Linked DNA regions of Homo sapiens: region 1 is linked to region 2. Evidence: promoter capture Hi-C in 16 types of primary human blood cells and fetal thymus (Javierre and others, 2016). All regions are on one chromosome and are shown on one strand. Each heading gives the region's core, a stretch centred on a gene start or on the middle of the fragment in contact. The rest is flanking DNA. Distances are from core to core; before and after follow the strand shown. Region 1 overlaps NXN (nucleoredoxin). Region 2 holds the start of LIAT1 (ligand of ATE1).

What was found. The method cuts DNA at HindIII sites, captures the fragments that hold promoters and counts their contacts. A CHiCAGO score of 5 or more calls a contact.
Region 1: a contact is called between a fragment that was not itself captured here and the fragment with the promoter of LIAT1 in region 2, in 2 of 17 cell types (M0 macrophages and total B cells). The highest score is 8.3, in M0 macrophages.

The regions. Positions count from the first base shown.
Region 1 is chr17:971,087-975,115 of GRCh38, reverse strand. All of the region lies in intron 1 of NXN (nucleoredoxin), which reads left to right. Among named protein-coding and RNA genes, the nearest start is that of NXN, 6.7 kb to the left of the region's middle. RefSeq lists enhancers at 1,684-2,183, 2,184-2,685. The HindIII fragment of the contact is 4,162 bases long and covers 1-3,819 here.
Region 2 is chr17:408,452-412,716 of GRCh38, reverse strand. It overlaps LIAT1 (ligand of ATE1), which reads right to left and starts at 2,392. Exons shown (of 2, transcript NM_001013672.5): 1 at 2,071-2,392. The coding sequence starts at 2,374. All of the region lies in intron 2 of LOC105371430 (a long non-coding RNA gene), which reads left to right. RefSeq lists a silencer at 2,251-2,340. The HindIII fragment of the contact is 6,027 bases long and covers 65-4,265 here.

The DNA of each region.
Region 1 (4,029 bases), core at 489-2,988, 560 kb before region 2:
GTGATGGCTCACACCTGTAATTCAGCACTTTGGGAGGCCAAGGTGGGGGGATCACTTGAGCCTAGGAGTTTGAGACCAGCCTGGGCAACATGGTGAAACATTGTCTTTGCAAAAAATAACAATTAGCTGGTCACAGTGGTGGGTACCTGTGGTCCCAGCTACTCGGGAGGCTGAGGCAGGAGGATTGCTTAAACCCAGGAGGTGGAGGCTGCAGTGAGCCATGTTTGTGTCACTACACTCCAGCCAGGACAACACAGCAAGACCCTGTATTAAATAAATAAATAAATAAATAAATAAATAAAAATAAAGTAATAAGAGCAATGTTCCTTGAGAGGCTTTTTCTTGTTCCATCATTTGTAATATATTTTTTAATCTCTTTGTTTTTTCTCTGCATAATAAGGCAGTCTAATACATGGCTAAAAATATAGAGTCTTTTGTCCTTCTGCTTGAGTTCACGCCCCCGCTCTGCCGTTTATTAGCTGTGTGTCCTTGTGCAAGGCGCTGTACATCTCTGTACCACACGTTCCTTTTCCATTTGTGATAACAGCACCTGCCTTATTGTGTAAAGGCTACGCGAGATAATATACACGTGCCTGGCATGTGGTGAGTGCTCAATAAATGCTATTATTGTGTTTAGATAAATGATCATTAAGTTTAGTCATTCATTTCATAGCTTGAGCCTTGGGAATCTATCACATTACTGAACTGTAAAACGGTTATGAGGTATATCCATATATCTATATATATATATCTATATACTTTTTTGAGATGGAGTCTCGCTCTGTCACCCAGGCTGGAGTGCAGTGGTGCGATCTCGGCTCACTGCAAGCTCCGCCTCCCGGGTTCACGCCATGCTCCTGCCTCAGCCTCCTGAGTAGCTGGGACTACAGGCGCCCACCACCACGCCTGGCTAATTTTTTTTGTATTTTTAGTAGAGACGGGGTTTCACTGTGTTAGCCAGGATGGTCTCGATCTCCCGACCTCGTGATCCGCCCAGCTCAGCCTCCCAAAGTGCTGGGATTACAGGCATGAGCCACCGCGCCCGGCATGAGGTATATTTTTAAACTTTTCAAACCAATGACTTTTACAAGCATACAAGGGGATTTGATGAAGGTGTCAAAAAAATTGCCCTACAATGGCCGGGCACTGTGGCTCACGCCTGTCATCCCAGCACTTTGGGAGGCCGAGGTGGGTGGGTCACTTGAGGTCAGGAGTTCAAGACCAGCCTGGCCAACATGGTGAAACCCCATCTCTACTAAAAATACAAAATTAACCAGGTGTGGTGGTACACACCTGTACTCCCAGCTACTCGGGAGGCTGAGGCAGGAGAATCGCTTGAACCCGAGAGGTGGAGTTGGCAGTGAGCTGAGATCGGGCCACGGCACTCCAGCCTGGGTGACAGAGCAAGACTCCGTCTTGGAAAAAAAAAATTAAATAAAAAAAATTGCCCCATAAGAGATTATAACTGCGAAGAAAGACCTAGAAGAATGAAACAACAAATACAGTGCCTTAAAGTCCCGGGATATTACTGATACTTACTGAGCTCTGTATTTCTATCTGCCAATGACGCTCCAGACTGCTGCTGATCGACGAAGCCTGGGAAAGATTTAAGTTACTATTAAGTTACCCTTTCAGTCACCCTTGTAACTTAAAGATGATCAGGCACTCTTCTTGAGAGAAATTACGCACAAAGCAATCATTTTGTGGTTTCCCAAAGCTATTAGGTGTGTCTTCCGCTGACCCTGTTTGCTTAACTCTGGGCGGTGTAGAGGTTGAAAGACTGCTGTTTCGCGTGGGAAATGGAGGGTGCTCATCTCTGGAGCTGTAGAAACGCCACCTCTAGCGTGGACCTGCCTCCCGTCCCAGCTCTGGAATGCTGCGGGATGGGTTTGCTCAGACATGTAGGCATTGCTGGTTTGGTACTCATCTCCCAGTTAGCAGCTCAGGCCTGCCTCTGAGTAGCCGTCCACAGCTCTTGCTGATCGATTTGTCTTCTGACACGGGTTGGAATGTGAGCTAGAGCACAGAGGCAAGCCCTGGAAGTTAGGGTCACTGATTTGATTCTACCTTTTTTTTTTTTTTTTTGAGACGCAGTCTCGCTCTGTCGCCCAGGCTGGAGTGCAGTGGAGCGATCTGGGCTCACCGCAATCTCCGCCTCCCGGGTTCCTGCCATTCTCCTGCCTCAGCCTCCCGAGTAGCTGGGACTACAGGGGCCCGTCACCACCCCTGGCTAATTTTTTGTATTATTAGTAGAGACGGGGTTTCACCGTGTTAGCCATGATGGTCTCGATCTCCTGACCTCGTGATCCACCCGCGTCAGCCTCCCAAAGTGCTGGGATTACAGGCGTGAGCCACCGCACCCGGCCCTGATTCTACGTTTTAAAATATTCCTACCTTTTGTTGGGAAGGTGTTGTAATGTGCACACACATTTGAGAAAACAGGCTTTGTGCACAGCTGGGGTCGGGGTTGAACAAACCCCTTGGGGATCTTCCTTTTTCCTGACAGTGATCAGGGTTCCAGGGCTCCAGCTCGTCCCGTTGTGAACTAGGTGGGATCCTTCCTGCATGATTTCATTTTGGCCAGGAGAGCACAGGCTTGGCATAGGATGTGTTTTCTTTCCTTTTTTTCTTTTTCTTTTTTTTCAGATGGAGTCTCGCTCTGCCAGGCTGGAGAGCAGTGGCGCGATCTCGGCTCACTGCAACCTCCGCCTCCTGGGTTCAAGCGATTCTCCTGCCTCAGCCTCCCGAGTAGCTGGGATTACAGGCGCCAGCCACCACGCCTGGCTAAGTTTTGTATTTTTTAAATTTTTTTTGAGATGGAGTTTTGTTCTTGTTGCCCAGGCTGGAGTGCAATGACACCATCTCAGCTCACCGTGACCTCTGCCTTCTGGGTTCAAGCAATTCTTCTGCTTCAGCCTCCCGAGTAGCTGGGATTATAGGCGCATGTGCCACCACGCCCGGCTAATTTTGTATTTTTAGTAGAGATGGGGTTTCACCATGTTGGTCTGGCTGGTCTCCAACTCCCAACCTTAGGTGGTCCGCCTGCCTTGGCCTCCCAAAGTGCTGGGCTTACGGGTGTGAGCCACCGTGACTGGCCAATTTTTATATTTTTAATAGAGACAGGGTTTCACCATGTTGGCCAGGCTGGTCTTGAACTCCTGACCTCAGGTGATCCACCCGCCTCGGCTTCCAAAGTGCTGGGATCACAGCGTGAGCTGCGGCGCCCGGCCAGGATGTGTTTTCTTTCTTCATGATCTGAATTCCCAGTGGTGCATGGTGTGAACCACCAAGGTGCTTAGTTTTCTGTGTTGCATTGAATTTACCGTTTATGCGTATTCCAAGACAATCAAGGAAAATCGCTATGAATTTGGAATCTTTGTGAATCCTGACTTTCTTTTTTTTTTTTGAGATGGAGTCTCGCTCTGTCACCCAGGCTGGAGTGCAGTGGCGCGATCTCGGCTGACTGCCAGCTCCGCCTTCCCGGTTCACGCCATTCTCCTGCCGCAGCCTCCCGAGGAGCTGGGACCACAGGTGCCCGCCCTCACGCCCGGCTAATTTTTTGTGTTTTTAGTAGAGACGGGGTTTCACCGTGTTAGCCAGGATGGTCTTGAACTCCTGACCTCATGATCCACCTGCCTCGGCCTCCCAAAGTGCTGGGATGACAGGCGTGAGCCACCGCGCTCGGTCTGTTTTTGTTTCTCAATGAGTGTTTTAAAGAGGACTAAATGAGCAAATGGATGTCACAGCTGGGTGAGTCCCAGCAGCTTCTTGTGCAACTGGATTGCCGTGTGATTCTGTGCTCAAAAATAGGAAAAAGCTTGACTCTCCATTTTTGAAATGTCAAATATCTGAGTCTATTAAAAGAGACTCGGCCACGCGCGGTGGCTCACGCCTGTAATCCCAGCACTGTGGGAAGCCGAGGTGGGCGGATCACCTGAGGTTGGGAGTTCTAGACCAACCTGACCAATGTGGAGAAACCCTGTCTCTACTTAAAATACAAAATTAGCCGGGTGTGGTGGTGCATGCCTG
Region 2 (4,265 bases), core at 1,143-3,642:
GTCTGTGACTCTACCCTAGTCTAGACACTTTATGATGGAAGGAACGGAAAACAACAGAAAAGCTTCCTAAATTTGACTGAAAGCAGTATTATGCCAAGCCAGAAATACTTCTGCTGTATGGCTTGTACTGATTTTTTTTTTTAACATCAATAGCACTTCAGAATTATTTAACATGCACATAAAATGCTACAAATTGTGGTTCTTTCATCAGCTCGTCCTTTTATTTTAGGGGAGAGAGAAAGAAATCATCTTTTGACATTTCCCTCCCTTGCTACGCCCTGGAAACTATCTGGTGCCCCCTGCTGATGGTATGAGGCACATGTCACTGTAATTTCTACAGTGAAAAGCTACGCCAAAAGGACAATGAACTGCCAAATTTCTTTTTGCAGATACACACAGGGCTTTTTTTTTTTTTGAGACTGAGTCTCACTCTGCCACCCAGGCTGGAGCACAGTGGCACAATCTTGGCTCACTGCAACCTCCGCCTCTCAGGTTCAAGCAATTCTAGGTGCCTGCCACCATGCCCAGCTAATTTTTGTATTTTCAGTAGAGACGGGGTTTCACCATGTTGGCCAGGCTGGTCTTGAATTCCCAAAGTGCTGGGATTACAGGCGTGAGCCATGTGCCCAGCCACACAGGGCTTCTTGACCTGAACTGCAGAATTTTCTTGCCTTTGTATTACGCCTGAGAAGTACTTATCATCTTCCCATTGCTCCCTTCCCACACTGCACGGTCCATATGGGCGAGGCTGCCACTCTGCCTCCTGCTTGCCTTGGTGCCAGCTCTGCCACAGAGGGCCAGGCCCCAGAACTGGAGCTTAGAGCCCTCTCCCAGACAGCCAAAGCCACTGAGGTGGACCACACGGGCGACAGTGGCCTCACAGCACTCACGGGCACCTGCATTCTCTGTCACTGCTGTGCTCTCTCTCCTCAAAGTGGGTGCTCAGTCCCCTTGTCAAGAAATGTAGGGGTTCTACAAGAAGAGCTTGGTGAGATGTAGGGACTGGGGTTTATGGCAGGTAGGGTATGTGTGTTTGTGAAGGTGTCCCTGAGAGAGACTGCAATTCCTGCCTGCATATGACTACACACGCGAATGGATAACGTATTAACAGTCTGTGTGTGTAGACTAGGAATGTGTGTGCATGAGGGGGATCTGTGCTTTAGTTTTCTTGTTTGTTTTTTTGAGAGACAGGGTCTTGCTTGTTGCCCAGGCTGGAGTGCAATGGTGCGATCATAGCTCACTGCAGCCTGGAAGTCCTGGGTTCAAGTGATCCTCCCACCTCGGCCTCCCAAAGTGCTCGGATTACAGGTGTGAGCCACTGCGTCCCGCCCTTTAGTTTCACTGTTGGTGTTACATTGATAGAAGGTGGGGGGAGTGGTTGAGGGTGTCCCCCGCCCTTTAGTTTCACTGTGGGTGTTACACTGATATGAAGCGGGGAGTGGTTGAGGGTGTCAGGGATTATAGGAGGATGTCACAGTGACTGGTGTCATGGGGTTTGTGCAGTCCAAGGCTGCCCCTTGGTGGGTGCGAGGGGGAGCCCATGCAGCGAGGACCTTTAATACACACGTCTGTGGGTGTGGGTGTCTACCGCGCATCCACAGGCAGGCAGCCTTAACGCAAGAGGGTGGGAGGAGGGGAGGCAGGAGTCTGCCCTTCTCTGTGCATGAGAGTGAGGGCCTTTCATGTGGCATCAATGTGTTTGGGGTGGGGAAAGTGTCTTGTGAGGAGGGCCTCTGTGGGGAAGGCGCAGACGTTTAAGACTGCCAGTTTTGGCTGAGGGATTAGGAAGTTGAGAGGGTGTCTTTGTGTGGGGCTGGAAGGCTCTTAGGAATGGTGGATATCTGTAGGGGTCTCTGTGTGGGGCTAAGGGACCGCAGAGTTGGTGGATGGTCTCCACGGGTGGGGCTGGGGCATCAACGTGCTGCTGACGGGCATGTGTGGGGAGCAGGAGGACCTCGGTCCGGGACCACTGAGCTTCTGTTTCCGGTCTGAAGGGTAAATGGGGGGTGGGTCCCCAAAGAGTCTCCAGGGAACCGGAGCTGACGCAGCCGGGCTAGCTGCTCCTCTTACCGTCCCCCTTGCCAGACCCCTTGGTCTTCTTCTTCCTTTTTTTCTTCTTCACCTTCCGTTTGGCCAGCTCGGAGGCGCCGCCTGTGATGGGGGGCAGTCTAGACCCCCGCGGGCCCGCGGCGCCGCCCTCCCGCTCCTCCTCCTCGCCGTCGTTGTCCTTGTACCCCATTGTCCCCGCCCCACCGCGGCGGTCCAGCCGCCCGCTGGGCTGCAACCCAACCCGCCCCGGGGGCGCCCGAGGCCCGATGCCGACTAATCGGCGACTCTCAGCGCGGACCGCCAGGCCAGGGCCACGCGTCTCCATGGCGACCACCCCTGCTGCGCCTGCGCAGTCAGGACGCTTCCGCCCGGTGCCCCACGGACCGCGGTGTGCGCATGCGTGCTTCCGTCTTTTGGCGACCTTGGCACACAGCGGTGTGCGCATGTGTGCTTCTGTCGGGGATCTCGAGAACAGAGCGTTGTGCGCATGCGTACATCTGTCGGAGTGCTAGGTACGCAGCGGTGCGCGCATGCGTGCTTCCATCTGTTGGCGATACCGGCACAGCGATGTGCGCATGCGTGCTTCTGTCTGCGGAGACCTCCGCGCATAGAAGTGTGCGCATGCGTGCGTCTGTCGGAAACCTCCGCACACAGAGGTGTGCGCATGCGTGCTTCTGTCGGGGACCGCGGCGCACGGTGGTTCGCCCATGCTTGCTTTTGTCTGTTGGAATCTGGACAGTTGACCGCAGGAAGGGGAGGGTGGGCAGAGAGATTTTAAATCCCTGGGCTGACACTCATCTCGTCCAGTCCCGTGCCTCGATCCTCCTGCCTTGGCCTCCCATCCCCACGCCTGGCTAAGAGTTTTGATTTTTGGTTTCAGGCTGGTCTCGAACTCCTGGGCTCCATCGATCTTCCCGCCTCGGCCTCCTAGATCGCTGGGATCACAGGCATGAGCCTCCGTGCTCGGCCTCCTGTACCTTTTTAAATGCTGTGTATTCTCCCCTCAATTTTTATTGCCTGAGTTTCAGCCTCGTACATCTACCCTGGACTCTCAAAGCCAATGTGTCCAAAACAAACTTACTTCTTCATGGTTTTCCACTTTAGTGAACAAAACCGCTGGACTGGCTGGAAACCTGGTGGGCTTCCGTGTCCCCTACCCTCTCCCTTGTCCCTTACCCAGGCTGGGGCCGACTGCCGTGTCTGGCACTGGGACTTCTGGGTCCTCTCCTGAATGGTCTCTGCTTTCAAACCTTCCCCACGAACTCTTTTTCCGCACAGCTGCTAGAACAAACTTTTAAAAACAACCAAACCGTTCACTCTCTTGCTAAAAGTCTCCAGTGATGAAAAACAAAACATAAAAAGCCAAAAAGTCCTCCATTGCTTCCTCATCACAATTTACATCAAGATCTAAACTCTTGTGGGGCTCTGTGCAGGGCTGACACCCGTAGTCCCAACACTTTGGGAGGTCAAGGTGGGTGGATCGCTTGAGCCCATTCTGGGCAACGTAGTGAGACCCCATCTCTACAAAAAATTAACCAGCTGCGCTGAGGGGCACTTGTGGAGGAACTTGAGCCTGCAGTGAGCCGAGATCGCACCACTGCTGTCCAGCCTGGGTAACAAAGCAAGACTTTCTCTCTCTTTTTTTTTTTTTGGGAGACAGAGCCTTCCTCTGTTGCCCAGGCTGGAATGCAGTGGCGTGAACGTGACTCACTGCAACCTCTGCCTCTCAGGTTCAAGTGATTCTTCTGCCTCAGCCTCCCTAGTAGCTAGGACTACAGGTGCGTGCCACCACGCCTGGCTGATTTTTTATTTTTTATTTTTTGTATTTTTAGTAGAGACGGGGTGTCACCATATTGGCCAGGCTGGTCTCGAACACCTGACCTTGTGATCCGCCTACCTCGGCCTCCCAAAGTGCTGGGACTACAGGCTTGAGCCACCACGCCCGGCCTCTGTGTCTTAAAAAAAAAAATAACAAAGTGTGGCTTACAAGGCCTGGTATGATGCATCACCTGCTTTTCTTTCTAGGTTTACCCTCCACAGATTGTATTATCTGAAAATGGCTGCAGAGGCTGGGCATGGTGGCTCACGCCTGTAATCCCAGCACTTTGGGAGGCCGAGGTGGGTGGATCACTTGAGGTCAGGAGTTTGAGACCAGCCTGGCCAACATGGAGAAACCCCGTCTCTACTAAAAATACAAAAATTAGCTGGGCATGGTG